Regions from separate parts of the Homo sapiens genome. Here all the other regions are linked to region 1. Evidence: promoter capture Hi-C in human tissues and cell types (Jung and others, 2019). All regions are on one chromosome and are shown on one strand. Each heading gives the region's core, a stretch centred on a gene start or on the middle of the fragment in contact. The rest is flanking DNA. Distances are from core to core; before and after follow the strand shown. Region 1 holds the start of TMEM200C (transmembrane protein 200C). Region 2 overlaps ARHGAP28 (Rho GTPase activating protein 28). Region 3 has its middle 11 kb from the start of LINC01892. Region 4 overlaps LINC01892 (long intergenic non-protein coding RNA 1892). Region 5 overlaps LINC01387 (long intergenic non-protein coding RNA 1387). Region 6 has its middle 7.9 kb from the start of LINC01387. Region 7 has its middle 33 kb from the start of L3MBTL4.

Evidence for each region. The method cuts DNA at HindIII sites, captures the fragments that hold promoters and counts their contacts. A contact is called where the count stands out against the background at its distance.
Region 2: a contact is called between a fragment that was not itself captured here and the fragment with the promoter of TMEM200C in region 1, in 4 of the 25 tissues and cell types used here (H1 embryonic stem cells, bladder, dorsolateral prefrontal cortex and 1 more).
Region 3: a contact is called between a fragment that was not itself captured here and the fragment with the promoter of TMEM200C in region 1, in 1 of the 25 tissues and cell types used here (H1 embryonic stem cells).
Region 4: a contact is called between a fragment that was not itself captured here and the fragment with the promoter of TMEM200C in region 1, in 1 of the 25 tissues and cell types used here (dorsolateral prefrontal cortex).
Region 5: a fragment that was not itself captured here is called in contact with the fragment with the promoter of TMEM200C in region 1 in 3 of the 25 tissues and cell types used here (dorsolateral prefrontal cortex, lymphoblastoid cells and stomach).
Region 6: a contact is called between a fragment that was not itself captured here and the fragment with the promoter of TMEM200C in region 1, in 1 of the 25 tissues and cell types used here (lymphoblastoid cells).
Region 7: a fragment that was not itself captured here is called in contact with the fragment with the promoter of TMEM200C in region 1 in 2 of the 25 tissues and cell types used here (dorsolateral prefrontal cortex and lymphoblastoid cells).

Annotation. Positions count from the first base shown.
Region 1 is chr18:5,893,372-5,897,074 of GRCh38, reverse strand. TMEM200C (transmembrane protein 200C) reads left to right here and starts at 1,553. Exons shown (of 2, transcript NM_001395400.1): 1 at 1,553-2,045. The region is part of intron 9 of MIR3976HG (MIR3976 host gene); the gene reads right to left. It overlaps LOC121725015 (a long non-coding RNA gene), which reads right to left and starts at 1,348. Exons shown (of 3, transcript NR_172505.1): 1 at 989-1,348. The HindIII fragment of the contact is 12,914 bases long and covers 1-3,703 here.
Region 2 is chr18:6,744,901-6,748,603 of GRCh38, reverse strand. All of the region lies in intron 1 of ARHGAP28 (Rho GTPase activating protein 28), which reads right to left. Among named protein-coding and RNA genes, the nearest start is that of ARHGAP28-AS1, 17 kb to the right of the region's middle. The HindIII fragment of the contact is 7,565 bases long and covers 1-3,703 here.
Region 3 is chr18:5,067,915-5,071,617 of GRCh38, reverse strand. No RefSeq gene overlaps it. Among named protein-coding and RNA genes, the nearest start is that of LINC01892, 11 kb to the left of the region's middle. The HindIII fragment of the contact is 3,103 bases long and covers 255-3,357 here.
Region 4 is chr18:5,092,760-5,096,462 of GRCh38, reverse strand. It overlaps LINC01892 (long intergenic non-protein coding RNA 1892), which reads right to left. Exons shown (of 4, transcript NR_146900.1): 3 at 650-917. Among named protein-coding and RNA genes, the nearest start is that of LINC01892, 13 kb to the right of the region's middle. The HindIII fragment of the contact is 3,921 bases long and covers 1-3,651 here.
Region 5 is chr18:6,527,417-6,531,119 of GRCh38, reverse strand. All of the region lies in intron 2 of LINC01387 (long intergenic non-protein coding RNA 1387), which reads right to left. Among named protein-coding and RNA genes, the nearest start is that of LINC01387, 18 kb to the right of the region's middle. The HindIII fragment of the contact is 4,806 bases long and covers 1-3,703 here.
Region 6 is chr18:6,501,689-6,505,391 of GRCh38, reverse strand. No RefSeq gene overlaps it. Among named protein-coding and RNA genes, the nearest start is that of LINC01387, 7.9 kb to the left of the region's middle. The HindIII fragment of the contact is 7,445 bases long and covers 1-3,703 here.
Region 7 is chr18:6,445,649-6,449,351 of GRCh38, reverse strand. No RefSeq gene overlaps it. Among named protein-coding and RNA genes, the nearest start is that of L3MBTL4, 33 kb to the right of the region's middle. The HindIII fragment of the contact is 3,941 bases long and covers 1-3,703 here.

The DNA of each region.
Region 1 (3,703 bases), core at 304-2,803:
GCATGAATAGGTAGGGGGAAGGCGGTGGGTTCCGGACACCCTGATCATCATTCAGATTCGTTATTTGCTTGAAAAGGGTGACAGAGGCCACCTTTCCAACAGGTGAATGCAGGGTTGCCTTTTAGAAAACACTTCTGCTTCGTTCCCTCCTGTCCCCCACCGTCTCTATCCCCATCTCTTAGATCACTGTTCACATTTATATCATTGAACTTGTAAATTGGTTGTCTTTATTGTTCTTTTTGAAAAGTGTCTGCTCTAGATTTAAGCACAAGTGAATGCTGTGTATGTGGGGAACAATCTTGTAACAGGAGCTGCGGGCAGCAGAGCCCTCCTGTGTGGGTTTTGTGGACCCCTAAGCAGCAAAACTCAGAATATATAACACCCACCACCACCAAAATATTTATCTGGATCCAAAATTTCAGACAGCACTTGCTTCATCTGCTCTTCTGTTCCTTTCTTCCTGAATCCTGGCTGCCTCATTTCAATAGATAAATGAAATCTTTCTCACTTTCTCAATACTCTTTGGGGAAATTCCACTTTGAAATTCTCTTTTCCCTGTCATTTTTACTTTACAGTTGAGAAGACAGGGATGAACTAGGAAACAGGATCTCGATCTCTTTCTCTCTCTCTCTCGCCTTCTCTCTTTTTTAAATGACGTAGGGAGTTTGGACATCCTCCCTACCCCCACCTCCCCTCTCTGATTCCAACCCTGATTCCTGATTCCTGGAGAATTATAGTTTTCCTTTTAATGCTTGCTGATTACCGCACCGGGGAGGAGCAGGAGGGGCTGCCCAAGGAAGAGCCCCGGAGCCCATTCTGATCTCCGAGGAGCCCCAGCTGCCGGGTCCCGGTCAGGCTGGTCACAAAGCCCGGCGGGGCTGGAGCGCGAGCGCATCTGGCAGAGGCTTCCAAGCGTCCCGCGGTGCGCCCGTCCCGGCGGGGGCGGCTCCACTCCGCCCGGGCCCGAGTTCGCTGGGGGACAACTTACTGTGCTTGCCGAGCGTCCACACTGCAAACTCCCAAGCGGGAGGGGGAAGAGAGCCCAGGCTGCGCCGTGCCGAGGAGTAGAGGCAACAAAAGACCGAGGCACGAGGGGAGGGAGGCAGGCACGGAGGGACCGCGGACTCTGGCCCCTAGCTCCCCGAGAGCGCCCCTCGGATGCTGCTGGGGAGACCCTCCGGGCCTCTCTTTGGGGCCTCTGGGGCCCGCGGCTCAGACAGGTAGTTGGAGGAAAGAAGAACAAAGCTGCCCGCGGAGGCAGGCGGCGGTCTCGGGGCGCCCCGGGGCGGGGAGAGCCGAGGCCGAGGAGGCACCCCGCGCCCCCTGCCCCGCGGCCCGAGCGCCCCGTGCCGGCTGCCTCCGCCGCCTCCCCTCACGCCTCCTCCTCCCCGAGGAATCGGCGCTTCCGAAGGGACGGGCGGCGGGCGGCGGAGGACGCGGGGGAGCGGGGAAGGCCGGCGGCGTGGGGGGGGGCGCCGGAGGAGGGGGTGGGGCGGGGGGCGGGGGCGGGGGCGCCCCCCGACTCCGCCGAGCCGGGCGGGCCCCGACCGCCACCCTGCCGCAATTTCCCTGTGTCATGGCTCCGGTCTCTTAGCAACAGCCGCCAGTCCGGCCGCCCCGAGCCGCCGCCGCGGGCTCAACTCCACCCGGCGGAGCCCGGCGCGCCGCAGCCACACAAAAGAGGCGCGAGGGCCGGCGGCGCGGCCGCAGGGGCCCGCCCGGGAGCGCCGCGCTAGGGGACGCCGGGAGCTGGAGGATGAGCGGCGGAGAGGAGGGCTCCGAGGCGGGATGCGGGATGCGGGATGCGGAGGACCTGACACTTCTTGGAAACTCTTGGAAATGGCTCCCGCCACAGCGCCGGCGGGGACTGCGAGCCTGGGGCGGGCGCTCGCCCCCGCGGGGCTGCTGAGTCGCGCTCGGATGCGGGGCCCCGGGGCGCTGTCCCTGCGCTCCGCCGTCGGCTCGGGCTGAAAAAGTTTCTCCATGGTTCCTTTGTGTCGCCCGAGCGCCCGTTCGCCGGCCCCGACCTCCCTCGGTCTCCCTGGGTAAGTGAGCGATCTTGCGTGCGGAGAGTGCTGCCATTTTGAGCAATTCTGCCAGTCCCCAGCCCTTGGGGGCCCCTCCCCGCCCCTCGGGTCCCCGAGTCCCCGCGCCCCGGGCTGGTGTTCGGTGAGAGGCTTTTTCCCGGGCTGGCTACACGGGATGCGCTGCCCAGAAAAAGCTAGTTCAGGATTGCCCTCACTTGGCTCCTGCCTGTCTTCTTTCCAGAGGCGGACTCCCAGCTGCTGCACTCATGTGACTCCAGCTAACATCAATAAGCAGACCAAAGCCAGGGGCCAGGGGGTCGCCGCCCTGCCAGTGAGGGGCCGGGGTCGAGGACCTGGGTTGGGTACCGGGCACAGCACAGCGCTCCCAGCCTGTGGGATCCGAGCCTCCGAGCCTCAGAGTGGGGCTTAATCCATCTTGAGCGGAGAACTTGAATGTCTCTCTTGGAAGCAGTTGTATTTTTAGACATCCCTCCTTTGCTTCCCCCATCCTCCATTCTTTAACCACGGTAAGACCAGCTCCAGGCAGTAAATTGCGAGGGCAGCCAAGCTTGACTGCTAAGTTTGTTTTCTTTCATTAGGTATAAAGGAAAACCTCAAAGGTGGGTCTCCCGTGGCATCTGACCTTTGTCTGTATTTCGTGTCAGATGATGATACATTAAAAGGGAGTACAGCCTTCAACAGAGCTGAAGGAATAATAAACGAGGGAGTTAATTACTAGCTATTAAACTCATTTTAAAGATGTGCGGTAAAGGACTGTTGAAATCCATTCCAACCTTCCTTACATTCTACCGGAGCCAAAGCTGCCTTGCTGAGGAGAAATCCAAGTGGGTTTCCTCCTCCCCCAAGGCATCCAGCCTCCCGGCGCACCTGATCAATGCCCAACAAAACATGTAGCCTTTCTGCGGTGGGAGAGCCACCCTGCCAACTGAGTCTGAGTTCGCTTCTAAAAAATGTCTGGTCCTTAAAGCCTTCTTAAGATAACCACGGATCTCCAGATTATTTAAGATGCTGGACTCCAAGGATCACTTAAAACAACAGTCTCTATGTTACAACCACATAATAAATGTGCTTACTTATTTGGGATTAGAGATAGACAGTAAGCTCTTTTTTTTGTTTGTTTCAATCTGTACTTACTGGTGCAGCTTAAAGGTTTATAGATGTATTCTCTATACTGACCCCTCTCTTATCTACCTGGTGCTTCTCTTTACTGAAACCCAGCTAAGTCCCAAAGAGATATTGATTTGCAAATATTGCAAAGAGCTGATTACCATTTACATTCCCACTGATGGAGAAAAGATCCTGCCTATATTGATATAATGGAGGAACTCAAGGGCCAAAGCCTTTCACCCAATCACCAATTAAAAGCAAAATTCTACCTACCACACATTTTCAAGGGGGAATTTATTCTAAAACATGAATTATCTGATAAAGGATAGAAGAGCAAAAGGCTTGGGCGTGATATCTAAGTCTTTCAGTTCATACAATGTCCTTGATTTTAGCATCTCATAGGAGGGAAAACAACTAATGGGACAGAAAATGTTCTACTCTGGAGATACAGCAAGACTGTAATTTTTAGAGGCTGCCGAATAACTACAAATATGCATTTGTGAATTTTCCTACCCAGGCTTTTACAAACAACTAAATAAACTTCCTAA
Region 2 (3,703 bases), core at 380-2,879, 850 kb before region 1:
TTTTCTGGTATGCCCAGAGTCCTCCCAGCCTCTCCTCCATCAGCTTTCTCACATCAGCCAGAAACATCCAAGCCACAGAAGTTGCCCATCATGGCAATGCTGCCCAGAAGTGTCCTGATTCAAGGAGACAACACAGATGGCAGCCTCCAACACAGCAGTCACTCGAGCCAGGCCCTATTTTAGCCATGTGCTATTTTTATACTGAACTTGCCCTATACTTGTTCAAAGCTAATCTCTATGTACCAGAGAAACACTCTTAATACTGTGAGAGCTCTCTCCAGGTATACAATATAGTCATGGTATCTATAAATGTAAAGATACCCTGGATGTAAAAGTTTCCCGGAATAGGTATTGATGCAGTAACTGGTTCGTTGAACCGAATATTTGTTGATTTAGGTTGAATCTTGTTTGGGAATGTGGAGATTTCTATTCTAGGGGTGGTGTCATTCCAGGAAGGCAGAAAATCTCTAACTGGATCTCCTTCACCACTTTCACAGCAAACGGTGCATTCCACAGCACCTGTGGCCATGAGCTTGAATGCAGATGACCAGGTTTGAGATGGCCTCCACAATATGCTCTGTTATTAGTAATATTTTTGCATTCACATAATTACTAAAATGCCTAAGGCAAGCCAGTGTTTCATTAGTGTCGAGTTAAAGCCTTCCCCCTCTGCTTACCCCATGTGCCTTTGGTGCACAACACTGGATACCCAGCTGGATCATCCAACCACAAGCCAAGGTAAACACAGAAAGTGTGAGTCACTGGGGGTAAGAGCTATGTATGTCTCTACTAAATGTGAAGTCCGAATACTGGCACTCTGGCTGAACCACTATGATTCCAGCATATGTTTATGATTAGTAGCTATTAAATCAGCTACTTCCAATGTGTAAAGTAGTTTCTACCAGTTATTTGGGTATTTTTTCTGTGGGGAAGCATGAACTCTTCAAGAGCACTAAAAGAATTTTTTGCTTGAGTCTGATTCTTTCAAAATCAATGCTTTAATATTTAATTCAATATTTTAATTACTTCAATAGACTATATGGCATCTATAGAGTTGAAGACACCCTCCCAAAGTGAGGCACTTTTATTAACTTATTTTAACTGCTTTGGCTGAAACAACTGACATCTCTTTGACAACTGGTCTGTTGAGCCAATCCCATCCCACAAATTAAACCCTGCCAAACATATCTACAAAAACTATCACTACTTCCCTTGCCAATCTCTAAATACATCCAACCTGAATTATTGACTGAATTATTGACTCCCTCTCCCTACCGTCTACCTTCATCTATAGACCAATATACACACATCACACCATATCCACATGTCCAACTCAAGTATCATGTCCTCCATGAAGCAAACCCTGTTTCCTCTTTAGAGGATACAGTACTAAACAAGAAATGGTTCCCAGTTCTCCTGGGCTCCAATATAAGCTCCTCAAGCACAGGAACTCTGTCTTGATTAGCTTTGCTCTTTCATGGTGGCTTCAAGAGAAGATATTTGATTAATGTTTGCTAAAAAAAAAAAAAAAAGAAAATAAATGGATGAATGAACTGAATATCAGAGAATCTAGAGGTCTCTATTTTCTCAGTTAAAATTATTTATTATTCATTCATCATACATATATAATTTTAAAACAGACTTAGACAAAGTGTTCAATATACAGTGCTGTTTTTTGTTTCATTAATCAATCTACTTGCCAAATGTATAACTCTCATCCTTTCTTGGCTGACCCCTGGTTAAGTTTTCAGAACACTACCACATGAATTCCTATATCCGTTTCTCTCTCTTTCTCTTTCTCTTTTATTCCTTTAAAACACATGAGCTAAGACAGTTTCTCCAAATGTCAACATGACACTATATTTGAAGTAATGTGACTCATATCCATCAGAATCTGTTAAAGACTGAATTGTCTGGACTCTTCACTGATTCCTTGTGACCTTGAAAAGTTACTACTCTGAGACTCAGTGTTTTCACTTAAAAATGAGAGATTGTAACAGGTGCAACCCCAGGTTCCTTTCAGCTTTCTGTATTCTGGAAAACTAATTCTCTGTATTTTGCTAGGATAGGCTTGCTACACAAGCCTCATGAGTAGGCGGAGTAGAAAGCTGTCTAAAACAGGAGTCAGATACTATTATGGCCCACAGGCCAAATCCAGGCTACTACCTGTTTCTCTAAATAAAGTTTTATCAGAACACAATCAACCCTATTGGTTCATGTAATGTTTATGGTTGCTTTCTCGATAACAACAGTAGAGTTCCCACAGAGAAAATACAACCAGCAAAGCCTAAAATATTGACCCTTCGCAGAAAAACTGTGCCAACCCCTGGTCTAAATTATGTGCACTGAGGTGTGTGACTTCCTGCCTAAAGAACATTCCGTTCTCTGAATGAGACCTGGAGTCTCACTATTAGAGGTTTAAAGAAATGTATATATGCTTTGGGAAGGTAAAACACCTTAAATGCTGAGAAGACTGTTCCTTGGTAGAACAAAATGATCCCTTCGTGGATCACTACAGGGAAAATAGAAGGGCTCCAGGAAGCCAAAGTAAATTGATCAGGCGCAAAAATAAACTTGCTTACATCCCAATCTTGGCTGGGTCTACAATGGAGAAATGAGTCTCCAGATGCAGTGTCCTGGGAGTAGAATCTTGAGTTCGGTTTTCTCACAGTGTGATAGGTTTTACTCTAAACCTGCTTCCTTGCCCAGCCCCTCTTAACCCAACAGCCAACAGCTGCCAGACAGCTGGATGACAATTGGGTACAATAATAGGATAAAACCACTAAATGGTCTGTACACATTATTGGCACTTTCAGGCTTCTATGAAATGATGTGTGTGAACCTCAGAAACCATTATGATGAGCGAAGGAGCCAGACACAAATCATACATGCTGTGATGGCTTCCACGAACAGGCAATGCTAATCTGTGGTGACAGAAGTCAGAAACGGGTTGCCTGGAAGGAGTAATTGAAGGAACAAAGTGCATGAAGAAAATGTCTGGGGCGAGGGAGATGTTATATATCTTGTTTTGGATGGTAGTTACATGGGTCAAAAATCATGGAACTGAATATTTAACAGTGCACTTTACTGTAGAGGAAGTATACCTCGATTTTTAAACTGACATCACTAAATAAAGCATTTATTTTTATTTGTTTGTGGGTATGGCTTCAGAAATCCTGGAGGTCTTTAGATTCATGACCATTATATAATTTTCCCTCCATGGTAATGGATAAGAAGATGAAGTGAAGATAGAAAGGTGAAGAAGAGAGAAAAAAAGGTGAAGAAATGTTCCTTGGTGGAAGGAAATTCCTGTCAAGCCTCTAAGCCCATTTTCTTCCCAGGCACATTCTTGCAATATGTCATCAGATATCAGTTTTAGGGCCTAGCATGTCAGAGGACACTCAAAAGCAGAAAATGAGGAAAAAAAGTGAAATAGATTTTTCCTCTTAAAATGTATGTGTGTGTGTTTTATTGAATTATTAAAAACACAAGGAAAATATTCAACAATATGCTCCCATGTTTCTTGGAACTCTCCACTTTAATTTAAATTCTATTAAATTTTTCTAATTTTGTGCCAAAAAGAGTATAAAGTATTTTAATTAAATGAAATATAAACATAGTTAAATTAAATATAATTAAATTAAGTATAAATGAAATTATTAAATCTAGCACATAAAATATTAATAAAATTTATCTTTCAAAA
Region 3 (3,703 bases), core at 557-3,056, 830 kb after region 1:
CACCAGAGAAAGATTTAGACCTAAGTTAGAGCAATAAAATATAGTGAAACTTGTTGTGTCCCTTGGGTTCTTGGTTGAATGCAAGATAAGCCAAATATGGTCAATTTAAGCAGGTGAAAAATGTCTTCTTTACATCAACAAAAGGGATGGTGAAGCAGTTCTGAATGGGCAGGCACAAGGGGTCTGGATGGCAGGGGCCTGGAGTCGGGCCAGGGAATCTTTTACTGCCATCTCCAAAGCTGTGTGCGCTCCCAGCCCCACCCCAGTAGACTTTCAGAGATGCCGTGAATTCACACTTTTTATCACCCTCTCCAGAAGCAAGGCCTGGACGAAACCTGTGATTGGACTAGCCTAGCTCACATGCCACCCAATGGCAGGGAAGGAGAAAGTGGTCCTTCTTTGGCAGAGGAAGCCTCTTACCAAGACTCACACAAAGGGGGCTTTCCCTGAAATGTCCAGCAAATCCTGATAAAATCCCCTCCCCTTGTTAAAATAGATTCTAAGAAGTCACGATGTTTGATCATTTTGACAAGTGGTGAGTGAAAATCCACCACTATACCAGAGGAGGGATTGATAACATAGCAAGTGGAGTCTGTTGCTAAGTTACACAGTTGTCACTAATGAACACCAATTTTTTTTTGTTTTATTTTTATTTTAGAGACAGAGTCTTGCTCTGTCACCCAGACTGTAGTGCGTGGTGTGATCCTAGTTCACTGCAGCTTTGACCTCCTGAGGTAAAGTGATCCTCTTGCCTCAGCCTCTTGAGTAGCTGGGTCTGCCAATTTGCCCCACTACGCTGGGCTTATTTTTATTTTTGTAGAGGCAGAGTCTCGCTATGTTGCCCAGACTTGAACCCTAATTTTTATGTTCATGAAAATGAAGACTCTTAGCAGCTTATTTAGAATCAAAATTATTCTAATTGCACTCAACTCACTGTATTTGTCTGAATATATAAAACTTCAATATTTAAAAGTATTTACACACGAGATCTCTCTTTTGCTACTAATTTGTTGAATGATCATTGTGTGAAGGCTCTGTGCTGAGCACTTTACATGTATCATCTCATTTAGTCCTCATCACCTCTTCAGGAGCTAGTTTCTACCCTCATTCTCATCTTTAGAGGTGAAGAAATTGAAGCCTAGAGAACTATAGCTAGTAAGATTGAAGTTAGGGCTTGAACTCAGACTTGTCTGGTCCTAAATAAAGCCCATGTTATTAACTGAGCTATGGTATTTAATTCAGCTCAAATATTTTAATTATTTATGACAGCTCTTAAAAGCAAAGGTATAATTATCTATGGAAAAAATAGAGAGAGTGTTGATAAAAACGTTAGAGAACAAAAAAGCAGAATACTACTACTGCAAAGGAGCTGTGGGTGTTCTGAGTAGACAGAACTCATTCAAGTGCTTCCTTTGCTGGCATCTGGGGACAAGACAGTCTATCCCCCTGAATTTAATTTTTCTTATTTTAAGGTGGTGTTAATCACTACCCACTCACCAGAATGGTTAAATAGAAAATACCAAGTGGTAAGTGTAGAACAGCTTGAACCATCACACACAGCTGATGGTAGTGTAAGTTGGTATAGCCACTTTGGAAAACTGACAATATCCACTAAAGCCAGGTACATGCATAACGTATGACCCAACAGTCATGCTTTCAGGGTTTCTCTGTTTCTTGTTTATTTGTCTATTTGTTTTGTTTTGCTTTTATGTGACTGCGGAATATGTTGTGTTTAATCTGTGAAATTTTGCCAAGCTTTACCACTAGAATATAATATACGCACTTTTCTGTCAATAAAAAGTTTCAACAAATAGTAATACAAAAATGAACTTATAGTGTCCTTGCAAAAGTGAAACATATTAAAGTTCCTGGGGTAGAGCAGCCATTCAGTCAACACATTTCCCTTTGGTGAGCATTCTATGGCAGTAGTACGTGGGGAGAACCTGGAAGCTGGAGTCCACTGGAGTCATCCAGGTGAGAAATAAGATCCCAAGTGGCAGCAAGAGTGGAGTGGGAGAAACAGTGTCCCCAGAGCAGGAATGGCTGATAGAAGAGATCTAGGCTGGGGACTGATACAAGCAAGGGCCTGGGGGTGGGACCAGGCAATCGAGGCCACCTTGGTCATGTCAAAGAGGCTGATCAGGGAGGTCAAAAGGTCATAATGTGGCTCCTGGGAGTGAGAGTGGTGAAGGAGATTGGAGCATCAAGAGCCAGATCAGGCCGGTAGAGGCTGGGAACAGAGGATGGAGGAGGAAGCTACTAGCTCATGCCGAGCATGCTTGGTATGGAGCAGAAGCTGAAGTCTATACTGTTAAGAAACTACACCATCTTCTTGCCACTATCCTTCCTTTCCCTCCCATCTAAAATTTGGATAAAAAGCCTTCTTTCTACTAAATGTGCCTTAACATCACCTTTTTAATCCACATACAAAAGGCAAATGAAAACACAAGTTGGGGTGGAGAATTGGGCTTACTATTTATGCTCCATGTGAATGAAGGAGTCATTCAACTGCACAGAGGCTGAGTGTTCTCAGCCCGCAAATGCATGATTCAGATGTGACCGGCAGAGAACAGACGTCAGAATAAATGTGATAGTGGACTCAAGACTGCCTTGAAAGTCTACAGAACTGCATAAATATGGGATGAAATGATTCATGGTCAGTTGAAATCCAATGATGTAGAATTAAAAAAATGCTATTTCCCCATTGTCTTCTCCTCTTTCAAAAAGACACCAGATTGCTCTTGATTCATTGTGTTGCTTTATTCTGTCTCTCTTAAGTTCTGAATCCGTGTTTTGCAGAATTTCTTAAGGAGACTCAACCGTTCAGACTAGCTAAGGTGTCTGTTAGTTAACTGTTCACTGTTCTCTAAACTGAAATCTCTGTGAATTATTTTATTTGGATCTTGAAGTGCTGAGAGAGAGTTACCGCCCCTGATGCTGAAGTTAGTAGCTCCTTCAGCCTTGTTAGCATGAACAAGTCCAACCAGGCATGGCATGACAACCTGCTTTAAGCCTCCCCTGCATTTTGTGAGCTTATGCAAATGTAGCCCAGACAGGTACGATATAGAAAATCTAATCTAATCACCCAAGCTTGACATGTAATGAGTTTCCTTTTTTGTCTCATTGTTTCAAAGACTGGCCAGGCAGGTGATCTAATGTGTTTGATCACTTTTCTACTTGTCAAGGCACCATGGAACATTCCAGGACTTATTTAATTTCAGTTTTTAAAATAACCTGTGTTCCTTTTTGTGGTTACTTCTAATGGCTGAAAATGAAAACTGTTTCACTCTTTAAGAATTGCCTATGTAATTCAATTTTGCAGAGGAATGCAGTGTGCATGCCAATTCAGATCCAACTACATTTATTGAGCACCTGCTACATGTTAGACATGGGCTGGTTGCATCACATCCATTACCTGGGGATTGGATAGGGCAGATGCTACAGCTGGTAACAGCTATTTTGAGTCTGCTTGACATAGAAAGAGTGTCTTAGTTTGTGTTTCCCCAGAAGGAGCCCATGACGTAAGGATTTGATTGCATGTTTTTTTATTTTGGAGGTGATTTCAGTAAACAACAGTAGGGCAGTGGAGAATGTAGACAGGGAAGAGAAGAAAGCTGATAAAAGCTTCAATCAAACAGCTCCAACTGTGAGCAAATGGAGCTTAATTCTGCTGGGACCTCTGGGAAACAGATTGTGTGCCTCA
Region 4 (3,703 bases), core at 442-2,941, 800 kb after region 1:
GAAATCTTGTGCATTATAGATGTAGGTATTAGCTTATTTGTATGTCAGTAGAAATGTGGTCAAATGGTATAGGAATAGTTATTCCTATAATTTTCATCTGGTCATTATTTCAATGACCCACTTTCGGTGGGGATGGGAGAATACTTAAAATAATAGTGACTACAAAATTCACTCTATATTGAAATTCTTATTGTTGTGACAGGAGCAATTGTTTGCAAAAAAATGGTCCCTCTCCAGCCCAGACTTAAAAGCATAAGTGTGTTCTGCTTGGTGAAATTTGTGCTTAATTAGTCACAAAAGTCAGGCTGAGTCACCATTTAAAAAAAAAAAGACTCTTCTTTTGGAGCCCTGTGTGGTTGTTTGTGTTTAAGCTTGTGACGATTTTAAAATTGTTTAAACTTTAAGGCAAGGAACTAATTCTCAAGAGTTGAATTTCTGCTTGCACAAAAAGATAATTTTTACTTGGGTACTCTTGTATTAATATTATTACTTTGCAATACTGAAAATTTCATTATAGGCTGATCTGTGAGCTACTAGGCTGGGTATAGCTGCTGTGGATATTAATGTTTTGAATAGTGATAAGCACATGGGAATTATATGATATATAAAACAGTTCTGATGCTTACAATCTACTGTAGCAGCTACTTACCTCCAAGTGACTTTGGTTTATGAACACTACGTTATTGGTTTGTAAAACACCACAGGCAAGCTCATGTGGGACTCTATATCACTTCAGGGATTTCTGAGAGTCCCCAGATGATGTCCATATCCTCACCAACAAGACAGGTGAATCACCCCAGATGACTCCTGCTAGCAACCTGCTATGTGCACCAGGCATCGCTGCTTCTGTTGGGCATCGTAGCTGCCATTGAGTCTATTTCAGTAGCTCTTTAGGAGCATCCAGCCAAATTCTGAATCTAGATTGATAAGAATTAAAATGTAGGATCTGTTTTTGTAGATACCAGGTTTTAAAAGAACTACCCAGTGCTGAATTCTAGACCTTGGACTTCCTCATTTCTTCCTCATTTTGGGCAGCAACACATCTCCGTTCTATTGCAAAATATACCCTTAGAGCTTGGCCACAGGAGGAGTGAATGAGGCCTTACATTCTGTAAAGAAAACCCCCTGTTGATGCTCCTAATTCTGCCCTGCCCAGGTTAATTCTGTGAAGGCTTTTTTTCTTAATCTTTTAGTTTTATGAAATTATACCATTTTAAAGCCCTTCTAGTCATTTTTCTTTTTATTGAATTAATCTCTTTATCAATCAAGTTTGTCCAGAGGAAACACAGGACCAACATGACAGAAAGAGAGATTTGTTTTAAGCAATTTGCTAATGTGATTCTCCAAAGTCTGTAGAGCAGGCTAGAAAGTCAGGCAGGATTTATTTAATTTATTTAACTTATTTAGTTTTAGATGGAAACTTCCTATGTTGCCCAGGCTGATCTCGAGTTTCTGGCATCAAGCGATCCAAACACCTTGGCCTCCCAAGTGCTGAGACTGCAGCCATGAGCCACCACACCTGGCCCTCAGGCAGAATTCCATGTTACAGTCTTGAGGTAGAATTCTTTCTTCTCCAGGAAACCTTGGTCTCTGCTCTTAAGGCCTTTAGCTGATTAGATGAGGCCCAACCACATTATTAAGGATAAACTCCTTTACTTAAATTCGATTGATTATAGATGTTAATCATATCTACAAGATGCCTCCACAGCAACATCTAGACTGCTATTTGACCGAACAACTGAGCACCATGCCCTAGCCAAGTTGACACATGAAATTGGTCAACACAATGTCCTGCTGGTATCTCTTTCCTCAGCAGGTTGCCTACCATAAAGTTCTCTCAAGTATAAGTTTATTTATTTCAGTCAGATATTATCCTTATTGTTTTGCCAAGCAATACCCAGGCTGTCATAAAATTAGCAGTCTCAAGTGCACGTTTTAATTAACTCCTTTCATATAAATTGTGGTCTTCCATGGAAAGAAGAAATGCTAGAACATATTAGTGAAGAAGTAATTTTTTCTTCAGAAGTATACATAAAAAGGATGGACTTAAATTTGGAGGCAATCTATAGACATCTCAACTGGTTCATCTTACACAATGCTGACTAAAAAATTAAAGTTGGGCAAAGTTTCCTCTTGATGGGTGCCAAAACTGTGTAGCCCAGATCAGCTGGGAAACAAGGGCAGAGGTTTCAATGGAAATTTTAAACAAATGGATCAACATCCTGAAGGATTTATTTGAAAAGTTGTAATAGATGATGGAACACAGCTTTACTAGTACAATCCTGAAGACAAAACACAATCAAAATAATGGCTACCAAGAGGTGAAAGTGGTCTTAGTCAAAACGAAAGTGGACCAGTCAAAAGCAAAGGTCATGGTAACATTATTTGGGGATGATGAAGGCATTTTGCTTGTTCACTTTCTGGAGGACCAAAGAGTGATAACATCTTATTACGAGAGTGTTTTGAGAAAGTCAGCCAAAGCTTTAGCTGAAAAACCCCCAGGAAAGTTTCACCAGACAGTCTTTCTCCACCACCACAATGTTCCTGCTCATTCCTCCCATCAAACAAGGGCACTTTTGTGAGAGTTTCAGTGAAAAAATCATTAGGCATCCACTTTACAGTCCTAATTTGCTTCCTTATGAATTCTTTTTGTTTTCTAATCTTAAAAAAAATTTAAAGGGCATCCATTTTTCTTAGGTTAATAATGTAAAAAAACAAAACACTGCATTGACAAGGTTAAATTCCCAGGGCCCTCAATTCTTTCACGGATGGACTACATGGTTGGTATCATTGCTTACAAAAACATCTTGGCATTGATGAAACTTACATTGAAAAAGTTTATGTATTGTATTTCTATCTTTTAATTTTATTTTTCTGTGAATTTTTTGAAGTCCTTTTGTTTATCCCACACCTCCCGTCCTCAGTATATTCCTGAAATGAGATTATGGATTTATAGGATATTAGGAAAGAAAGATTCACCCAACAAGATGTCATTAGTGGTGGCACCCAAAATGTGGACAGGTGCTATGACAGATGGGCCCAGGCAGCAGGGATGGAACCTCTAGGGTCCACAGTGAAGCACTGAGGGACTGCACCTCTTGCCAACATCTCATTTTCAAAATCGTCTTCTCTCCTTGAATAAGCACACAGCTCTTTTAAGAAAATAAAATATAATGAACAAAGAGAGGTAAAATACTTTTACCTAAGCCATTCTTATACCTCCAGGTTTTCATTTAGACTATGACCCAAGGAGATACAGATCTCAGTAAAATATTTTTAAATAAAATTAACTATACCCCTAGGATAGGATTTAAAATAAATTCTTCTTTGATAGCACACCAAAGTTCATTCAGTTTGGAACCTGGAATCTGGGAAGTCCACATTCATTCTACATTTTACTTTTTCTTGCCCCCTTAACTTTTTGTTCATTCTCTTGTCCTGTTTCCTATACATGCCTCTCGTTTCATTCCAGATACAAGTCCCTTTGAGGATAGGATTGAAATGTATTTGTTTCATTCAAAACAGTTTATAGGTTGTTGTTGTTTTTCTTTTTCCTTTTTTTTTTTTTTTTTTAGTTTTTTGAGATGGAGTCCTGCTCTGTTGCCCAGGCCGGAGTGCAATGGCACAACCTGGGCTCACTGAAACCTCCACCTCCCGGGTTCAAGCAATTCTCCTACAGCTGCCTCCTGAGTAGCTTGGATTA
Region 5 (3,703 bases), core at 418-2,917, 630 kb before region 1:
TTGGGATTACAGGCGTGAGCCACTGCACCCAGCCTAGAAAATAATTTTTAGTCTCATCAAATGTTCAGCAGTGTAGGTACTTCTAAAATGAATTTTAATTGCTAAAAGTGGAACCTATGTTAGATTTACATTAAGAGGTGAAAGGAAGGATAACTTCAGAATTTCACGTTGAATTTTTTCTTGTTTTATAGAATTCTAGAAACTAATATTACTAAAAATAAAAAGACCATTGGAAGGCTGGGTGCAGTGGTTCACACCTGTAATCCTACTGCTTTGGGAGGCCAAGGTGGGAGGATTGCTTAAGGCCAGGAATTTGAGACCAGCCTGGGCAACATAGTAAGACCCCATCTCTAAAAAAATACATAAATAAAAACAATTACTTGGGCATGGTGGCAAGGACCTGTAGTCCTAGCTAATCTGGAGGCTGAGGCAGGAGGTTCTCTTGAGCCCAGGAGTTCAAGGTTACAGTGAGCAATGATCATGCCACTACTCCAGCTTTGGTGACAGAACCAGATCCTGTCTCAAAAAAAAAGAAAAAAAGTATTGCAACATAGAGTCCTTTAGAAGCTAAGGACAGTTAGTCTTCAAGATACTCATCTCACATTCAATGACACCCATAGGCTCAATGTAAAGGAATGGAGAAAGATCTATGAAGCAACAGAAAACAAAAAAGAGCAGGGCTGCTATTCTTACTTCAGACAAAACAGACTTTAAATCAACAACATTCAATAAGAACAAATAAGGACATTACATACTGATAAAGGGTTCGGTTCCACAGGGAGACTTAACTATCCTAAATATATATGCACTTAACACTGGAGTACTTAGATTCACAAAACAAGCTCTTAGAGACCTATGAAAAGACTTCTATAACCACACAATAATAATGGGAGACTTCAACACCCCACTGACAGTGTTAGACAGATCACTGAGGCAGAAAACTAGCAAAGATATTTGACCTAAACTCGACACTTGACCTAAACTCAACACTTGACCAAACCGACCTAATATACATCTACAGAGTATTCCACCCAACAACATAATATACATTTTTCTTATCTGCACATGGCATATACTCTAAGATTGGCCTCATGCTCAGCCATAAAGTTATTCTCAACAAATTCAAAAAAACCAAAATTGTACCAACCACACTCTCAGACCATAGCACAATAAAAATAGAAATCAGCACCAAGAAGATCTCTAAAAACTATACAATTTCATGGAAATTAAGCAACCTGTCCCTGAATGACTTCTGGATAAATAATAAAATTGAGGCAGAAATAAAAAAATTATTTGAAGTAAATGAAAGAAAAAAAAAACACTACAGCATACCAGAATCTCTGGGACACAGCTAAATCAGCATTAGAGGACAGTTTATATTGCTAAATGCCTACATCAAGAAGTTAAAGATCTCAAATTAACAACCTAACATCACATCTAGAGAAGCTAAAAAATACAAGACCAAACCAACCCCAAAGTTAGCAGAAGAAAAGAAATAACCAAAATCAGAGCTGAACTGAATGCAAATGAGACATAAAAATTCATACAAAAGATCAATGAAACCAAAGATTTTTTTTTAGAATAAATAAGATTGATAGACTGCTATCTTGATTAATAGAGGAAAAAGAGAAGATCCAAATGGACTGAATCAGAAACGACAAAGGTGACATTATCACCGACCCCACAGAAGTACAAAAAATGCTCAGAGACTATTATGAACACTTCTATGCACCTCTATGCACAAACTAGAAAACCTACAAGAAATTGATAAATTCCTGGAAACATAAAACCTCTCAAGATTGAACCAGGAATAAGTTGAAATCCTGAACAGACCAATACTGAGCTCTGAAATGGAATCAGTAATAAAAAGCCTCCCAACCAGAAAGGGCCCTGGACCAGATGGATTTACAGCCAAATTCTACCAGATATATAAAAAGGAGCTAGTACCAATCCTACTAAAATTATTCCAAAAAAGCAAGGAGGAAGGACTTTTCCCTAACTCATTCTATGAGGCCAGCATCATTCTGATACCAAAACCTGGCAGAGACATAATGAATAAAGAAAACTTCAGGCCAATATCTCTGATGAACAAAGATGCCAAAATCCTCTCCTGAATGCAGCAGCACATTAAAAAGCTAATCCACCATGATCAAGTAGGTTTTATTCCTGAGATGCAATGTTGATTCAACATATGCAAATCAATAACTTAATAAATGGAAAAGGCTTTTGATTAAAATTCAACATCTCTTCATGTTAAAAGCCCTAGTTCAAAACCCTAGTTTATTAAAAAACAAGCTAGGCATTGAAGGAATACACCTCAAAATAATAAAAGCCATCTATGACAAACCAATAGCCAACATCATACTGAATGGGCAAAAGCTGGAAGTGTTCCCCCTGAGAACTGGAACAAGACAAAGTTGCCCACTCTCACCACTCCTATTCAACACAGTACTAGAAGTCCTAGCCAGAGCAATCAGGCAAGAGAAAGAAATAAAAGGCATCTAAATAGGAAGAGAGTAGGTCAAATTATCTCCCCTCACAGAGGATATGATTCTATACCAAAGATGACTAGGGATAGCAGGTTCAAGAAATGGACATAAGTGTCTGTGTGTGTTGGGGGGACTATTGCTAATTAACCTAGACTAGTGGGTCTTAATCTTGACTACAAATAAGAATCAGTTGGGAAGCTTTACAAAATATGTGGGCCCCACCCGGAAAGATCCTGATTCCATCATTCTGGAGTGGGCACCTGTCAGGGGTATTTGTAAAAGCTTCCAGGCAATTTTCACTCACAGCCAGGTCTAAGACTCACTGATCCAGATTGATGGTGTGGGAAGGTCTCCAGGCCTCGCTTTGAGGAAGGAATACTACAAATACAGGGTAATGACAACAGCCCTGCCATTATTAAGGAGTCATGAGCTGTTTTAGTGTTTTTATGGTTTATTCGCTCCTCACAACAATCATACTAGGTAGATACTGTCTTTATTTTACATATGAGAAAAGTGAGAACCAGGAATTGCAATAACTTGTTCAAAGTCACACTGCTAAAAGCAGTCAAGGCAGGTTTGAATAAAGCTTCACCTTCATCTGAAGGCTGTTCCTTCTCCATTACATTTCCTTGTATGCCCACTATTGCTGGTATTGAGTAAAAGATGTAAAATTTTAATTTGGGGATCACTGCTGACCCTATGAAATGTGTGGAGTTGCCTGCACATTGTAACAAATGAAAGAAATAAAATTCTCATTCCAATTGCAATTTTCATCTTCAAAAGCCAAACTGGCTGATCCTTTTAAAGGTCTGTGAAGGCTTCGGAATGGGTATGCTTGGCTAAGCTGAACTGAAGTCCCAGTTATTCAGTCAGGCACTTTGCCTTTGAAAGGTGTTCTCCTGAATGGGGCAATTAAGTTTTGCCTGTAAAATAGTGACCAGTGCAGACTGGTATTTCCCACTCCACAGGTCTGGTGTCCACATCATGGTGGTTTTGACTTTGTGTGTCCTTGTTCACTATCCAGTTCTTTGCAATAACTGGAAAGCTGTCACTTGGCCCCAATAAACTAAGATAATAGTTATCTCCATCCAGAATCCCTCCTATTCCTGCTTCCCTTCTTGCATTCCCATCTGCAAGGCTTGGCCTTCTCCCAGGTCATAGGCCTGTATGTGTAGGTGACAATTAGACTAGTGTCTCCCAAATTAACTTAGCTG
Region 6 (3,703 bases), core at 677-3,176, 610 kb before region 1:
TTGTGATTTTGATTACTGCCTTGGGGGAAAACATTTACCAGCCAAGGAGAGGAGTCAAGAGACAGATCCTAACACTCAGGAAGAAGTGAAGTCTCATCGCAGGAAAATATTAGACAAAAATGTAATCTCATCCCTTGGAAAAACAATTCATGTTTTAAGGGCTCAGTGCTCTGAAAATTTATGTTACAGATAATTAATAATGAAAGTTGAAGTTTCCACAGTTTTTTTAAACCATGACAGTTTATTAGCATACTTTTTGAAAAAACTCCTTGAAAGCAAAAAATGGTGGCTCTACCTAGAGCCCGATGGAGCCTTTGTCCTTTCCTGGGACCAGCTGACTCACCCAGCATCTGAGTCACTCAAACCCTCCCCACACCTCTCAACCCCCACCCTGCCCTGCCCTTGGAAGCAGAAAAGGTCAGTCACTTCAAGAGGTGGCTGGAGCGTCCTCCCTTTACGGGGAAGTCACCTGTGACAGAGCTGGGACTTGAAGCAGCTCTGCAGTTCTCCAGGCCTGCCCAGCAGAGGTGTCGCTTGCTTACCTGCTTGTCTTCCTTCCTCCCTTCCTTCCTTCCTTCCTTCCCTCCTTCCTCCCTTTCCTCCTTCCTTCTATCCCTCACTCTCTCTCCTTCCTTCCTTCCTGTTTCTCTCCTTCCTTCTTTCCTTCCTTCTGAACCAGCCTTGTTGTCTGGGGTGACACCTGAGGTTCTTGGCCTCATAGCCATGGAGATCAAGGACATGGACACATACAAAGAGTGAGGTTTAGAGCAGAATTTTAGTAGGTGAAAGAAAGAGAATAGCTCTTTGTTACAGAGAGGGGTCCCAGAAGAAATGGTTTGCTGATGTGCAGTGAAATGCAAGGGTTTTTATAGATAAGCTATTTGGGAGAGGTGGTATCTGATCTACACAGGGTGTAAAAAACCAGTTAGGACCAGGTGTGTCATATGTATAGGGTGTGAATTTCTGGCAGCCTCCACCCCAATCTTTTATTATGTAGGTGGGTAGTTACCCCATGTTGCTAAAAAAGAGGGGAGGTGGAGCGCCCGTGGTGGACATGCCTGGCCCCAGGTAGCCCCTTCTGTCTGTGCCACTGCCAGCATCCCCTTGTGCAAGCTTCCAGCTTCCTTATCTATGTTTGCAGCTCAATATTTCAAGGAGCTCTTTGTTAGAAAAGAAGTGATTTCAAGGGCTGCTTTTTGTTAGAAGGGAAGTTCTGCTGGGGACTCTTTTGTCCTCACTATCTGTCCAAATAATTTCTTTCTCTCTCCTGTATCACTTCCTTCCTTCCCTTCCCGCCCTCCGTCTCTTCCTTTCCTCCTCCCTTTTTCCCTCCTTTCCTTCCTTCCTTCCTTCCTTCCTTCCTTCCTTCCTTCCTTCCTTCCTTCCTTCCTCCCTCCCTCCTCCCTCCCTTCCTCCTCCCTCCTTTCTCTCTGCCTCTCTCCTCCTCTCTTACTTCCCTCCTTTCCTTTCTTTATCCTCTCTCTCTCCCCTTTTTCTTCCTTCCTTTCAAATTCTCTTCAAATTTTTCTTCAATTTTATAAAACCTATTTTAATTACATAATTAATATAAAAAAACTCCCTGTAGAAAAGTAAAAAATAAAACTCTATCCAAATGTTCCTTGAGCTCTGTCCACATTGCTAGTCTGTCTCCTTAGATGCAGTTACCATTTTCAGTGTGTGGAGAGCCTTTTACACTTTCTGCTATGCAATGACATATTTACAGATGTATGTGGTTTTGTCTGTGTGAACATGTTTACTTAACGAGTGTTATGGTGTGTGCAGTATTCTGCAATTTGCTTTTTAAAAATATTTTAACATTTTATTAAATCTCAAGTAGATATAAATTAGTCTAATGTATGTAAGGTATATAGAATAACACTACAATGGACACCTATGTATCCAAAACCCAGTTTAAGAAATAGAATATTCCTTTTGATTTGGAAGCTCTCTAGTTCCTTTAATCCGATCCGCTTCCCTCCTCTTTGATATGAATTTTGTGTTAATCATTTCTTTACCTTTCTTTATAGTTTTTCCTTATGCATTTCATTCCTGAAGAATGTGTTATGTAATTTTTCACATTTTTTGCACTTTATGCAAATGGGATGAAATGTAGTTATGTATGTGTGTGTTTCTCATGGTTCTGCAGGCTGTACAGGAAGCATAGCAGCTTCTGCTTCTGGGGAGGCCTCAGGAAACTTAATCATGGCAGAAGGTAAAGGGGAAGCAGGCACATCTTACATGGCCAGAATAGGAGGAAGAGAGAGAGGTGCCACATACTTTTAAACAACCAGATCTTGTGAGAACTCACTCACCATCATGGAAACAGCACCAAAGTGACAGTGCTAAAACATTCATGAAGGAACGACTCCCATGATCTAATCACTGCCCACAAGGCCCCACCTCCAACACTGGGGATTACAATTGAACATGAGATTTGGGTGGGGACAAAGATCCAAACTATATCAGTGTGTGTTGCATGTGTAGCTGTAGTTTATTCATTTTCCCTGCTCTATGATAGCCCATTGTATGATTAGACCACTACTGAAGCATACATTCTATTATTGTCTATAATTTAGATTCCTTCCAATTTTTTGCTATACATCTTCTTGTACAAATCCCTTAATGTATGTTTGCAAAGTTTATCTAGAACATATATGTAGGTCCTGCCTAGTCAATGAGTGTGCACATTTTCATCTTAACAGATTTGCTTAACAAAAAGGCAAACTATGAAATATGTAAAGAGGTTTATTCTGAGCCAATATTGAGTGATCATGGCCCAGGGAACAGTCTCAAGAAGTCCTGAGAAAGTGTGCCTGAGGCAATCAAGTTACAACTTGGTTTTATACATTTTTAAGGAGGGAGAAGTTATAGGCAAAGACATAAATCAAACATGTAACGTATATATTGGTTCAGCCCAGAAAGAGAGGACATCTCATGGGAAGTGGGGTTTATAGTCACAGGTCGCAGGTAGACTCAAAGATTTTCTGATTGGCAGTCGGTTGAAAGAGTTAAGCTAAAGGCCTGAAGTCAGAAGAACAAGCAAATGCTTGAGTCAAGATAAGGGGGATTATGGAAGTCATGGTTTTTGTTATGCAGATAAAGCCTCCAGGTAGTAAGCTCCAGAGAAATAGATGGTAAATGTCCCATTTTGGACCTTAAAAGGTGTCAGACTCTTAATTAATCTCTTCCAGATCCAGGAAAGGACTGGTTGCATTACTGGAGATTCTTTACAGATGCAAATTTACCCTACAAAAGATAGCTTTGCAGGGCCATTTTAAAATATGTGAAAAAAATGTATTTTGGGGTAAAATATTTTGATCTCCTTTAGGATCTGCTATCTGTCCTGTGATGTTATACAGAGTCAGGCTGAAATTTGGTATCTTATTGCCAAAGGGTCTGTTCTGTCAGTCTATGATCTCTATTTTAATGTGAATACTGGTCAGTTGTGCCTGAACTCCAAAAGGAGAGTGGTAAAATGAGATGTCTCCAATCTTCCTCCCCATCGTGACCAGGAATTAATTTTTTCAGGTTCTCTGGGGTCCCCTTGCTCAAGAGGGGTTCCATTGAGTTGGCTGGGGAGTTTAGTGTTTAGTTTGGTTCAGAAAGTAATGCCAGGTTGTTTTCTGGAGTGGTTGTAGTGATAGACACTCCTACAAACAGTGTATAGGGCTGTGGCCGCTCCACATCCTGCCCAATACTTGGA
Region 7 (3,703 bases), core at 657-3,156, 550 kb before region 1:
CTTCCCTGGCAAGTCTCAGAGACTCCAGTAACACATGGGCCCTGTCCCGTAGTGATGGAGTGGGCTGGATGGTAACCTGCCTCTGCAGCCAGGCTGCCTCAGTGACCCACAGGTGTAGTGTTCACTTACATTGCTTCATTCTTCTAATCTTTCTACTACTCCATGTTTTCCCAGTTTTTCACTTAGGCCTCAAGGATTTTCATGGTTTTTTTTTTTTTTTTTCGAGACAGGGTCTTGCTCTGTTGTCTAGGCTGTAGTGCACTGGCACAATCAGAGCTCACCACAGCCTTGAACTCCTAGGCTCGAGTGATCCTCCTGCCTCAGCCTACCTAGCAGCTGGGACCCTAGGTACATGCCACTGTGCCCAGCTAAGCCACAACAATGTTTAAGATTGTGTATCCAGGAATACTGTCTATTATTATATCTGTCTACTATTTATTATTAATAATAATAACTTGTTTTAATGACAATTTTTTAAAAATTGGCTATGCCAATATACATGAACACTATTCATTTTAGTATATTTACCTTGTATGTAATTATTTCCTTGAATTTTTAGAATTCTCATAATTTTTCAGTTGATTGTTTTACTACTTCTGGGCTTAAAATTATGCCATCTACAAGAAACAATAATTTTATTATTTTCTTTACATATGCACCTAATGTGTGTTTCATGCTTTCTTGTAATTGTCAAAAACTACCTAAAATATTAAATAACTATCATGGTATTGGGCTCCTTTATTTTATTCTGGATTTTCATGAGATCATTTCCAGTGGTTTGCCATACAATTTTTTTCATTATCTATATAGATGATTATTTTTAAAGTTTCATTTATTGATATGATGTACCAAGATGTAGGCATCTCCTAAAGCTGAACAACTGTCCTTGATACAATGTTTGGTCATGAAGGGAACAGATGATAGTTACAGTGTTGGGCTGCATTCACTGCTATCATGAAGGATGTTCTTCACATCTATAGTAATGCTATAGTTTTCTTTGGGAAGCAGGAATTTGAACAGCATATTAAATAAGTAGGATTTTTTTTTATAGGACCACAAACTAGTCAATATAAGACAGAAACAGCACAAGTAAAGGACATATCCATTGTGTTGAAGCAAGAACCATCTGATTCAGGGTGGCCCCCTGAGAGGGGCGGGAGAAGGGCAAGCCATGGGCTCTTCCCCAGGGGCCGCACGGGGCTGTCAGATTGCAGGCATATGACCCTTCCACACTCTGCTGAAGCAGAACATAGAAGTATGGCAGAGCAGAACGGAGCAAATCCCGCTCTCTTGCTGGCAGAGCCAGAGTACTGGAGCTACTCCACAATCAGTTCGGGGTTTTTGATAAAAGATCATTCTTCACTTTTCAGTTTCTGCTGCCTCTGGCGCTCACTGGCATAATTAATTATTGTCTGGCATAGACAAACAATAATCAGCTTGGGAATGTTTAACTTTGGAGGGCTGTGCTCTGAGCACATGGAAATATATGTCACCTATACAAGATGTCATCCCCTGTAGGCCCTGCAGACAGACGCTGGGCTTTGAGTTACTTTTTTTCTAACAACAATTGTAGAGTTTCATAGAATTGCTTAGAAAATGTGCCCTGAGGAGAGCAGGAGGAAAGCTTTCTCCAAGGAAGTCTCTCCAGGGAGACACTTAGTTTGTTCTATGGTCATTTAATAGTCTTTAAAAAGTTGCTTGCTCACAGAAAGATGGTGAGAAGGTAAATTGGATTAATCCATCTAATGAATATTTATGGAACAGGAACCAGGCACCATACCAGACTTGGAGAACAAAGTCTGGACGTAGTTAATAAGGCAGGTGGGAATTTAAGGTCTCCACTCATCTTGTGCCCTTCCCCTACTTACCTTCTCTTTCTTCCCTACTGCAGGCTGCCTGTGACTCACCGTACTTTAAGTTTCTTCTGAGTACACTGAGCCTGATATGTAATAGTAGTAATAATGATAACAACAGTAGCAGCAATAACAACAGAACCAATAACAAACATTTATTGAACCTATACTTTGTCCTGGCCATTGTTCTAAATGCTCCACATGGATGAACTCACAGACCCTCCCAGCCACCCACAGGGGACACTGCTACGATTATTACACAATATTAAGTTCACAGGGATGGGAAGTATCAGACCAGGATTCCAACTTGACCTCAGTTTTTCTAGCAAATAGTTCCTGAGCCTAGCTCCCAGCAATGTGCTGTGGGTACCTGTGAGGATGTTTCAGGAAGGAATGCAAAGCAAGGGTTAATTTAGTGAGACAAAGTTCTGTTTTCACTCTAGTCTCTACTTTTTTTTAAAAAAGTTTAATTTCCATAAATCTATGGGGTCCAAGGGCAATATTGTTAATATGCATTGATTGTGTAGTGGTCAAACCAGGGCTTTTTAGGCATCTATCACAAGACTAACATACATTTTACCCATTAAGTAATTTCTCCTCATAGTCCCAACTCCTACCCTGGTCTCTACATTTAGAAAGTAACATACAAAATTTGGCTGAAACTACAGAAAACAATAACAGTCCCAAATTACAAACTAATGAAAAACAGGGTTTGTGAAAAATAATATTATTAAGAGTTTGGATTGTTTGATTCATGGAAAAGCAGGCACAGGGATGATCCAAGTGTTCAAGTACACAAAGAACTCTCTTACAGGGTTCTGACAAGTGACTAGCCATTGCTACAGAAGGCATAGTAGAAGGCTGAGACATCTTTAAATAGAAGCAGTAGCTAAGATATAAGGTAGTGCTTACTGACAGTTATGGGAGAACCACTGGAAAACCTGCAAAGGGACATGGGGAATTCATGAGATTTAGAGAAGAGGGCATATATTCCAGATGGTTAATGTGTCATTCTGTCAAAGATTTGGACAAATGAGTAGTTCACAGTGTTTTCTGTGCAGCCTTAGCAGTTAATTTATTCTCTCTCTCCCTCTTTCTCTCTCTACCCCTCCCCCTCTCTCTCTCTGTCTCTCTCTCTCTCTCTCTAAGTTCTTACCATTTGCCAGTTTCTGTGCATGCTGCCCATTGTGGGTCCAGCCTTCACAGATTTTATAGTCTTAATGTGGCATACAGAGAAAAAAATTATTTCCTAATGCATAGAAAACTGCCTGGCTAGATATTTTGATAACACCCCCACCCACCCCAGATGTCCCCTACTTTCCTTTTACTAGGCCAAACATAGCTCACCCCTGCTCATTATCTCAGGAAAGGCTCTGCAGGGCAGAAAACCAGAGATGGTTCCAAGCCTGCTTGCTTTTGTAAAATAGAACCATAAATCCTCAAGGAAGGATGATGCCCTAGGATAGAGGAAGTAGTTAGAGCAGATAGTCCTGCAAATAGGAAGCGATTTCCTTAGGCTTGGGGGAAGGAGGGGGTGAACCATGGTTCCTGGAGAGAGCCCTGTTAGAGGTGACTAGACTACTAAAAGCATGTGGGATCCCAAGAACAGAGGGATCCATGATCTCCCCCGTTTCATGGACCCACTAGAGGACAGTGAGACCACAGAGGGAGAAATAGACCAGGCAGAACAGGTCTGCTTTTTTATCCTGTTTATAGACTAGATTTCAAATAAACAAAGGGTTTGGAGGCTAAAGTTTGGAAATCATGCTGCAAGAAATCATTTCTTATAAGGCTTTATTCTGAGCTATGCCTCAGTCTCAGGCTAAATTAACCCTAAGACGTTAATTTTC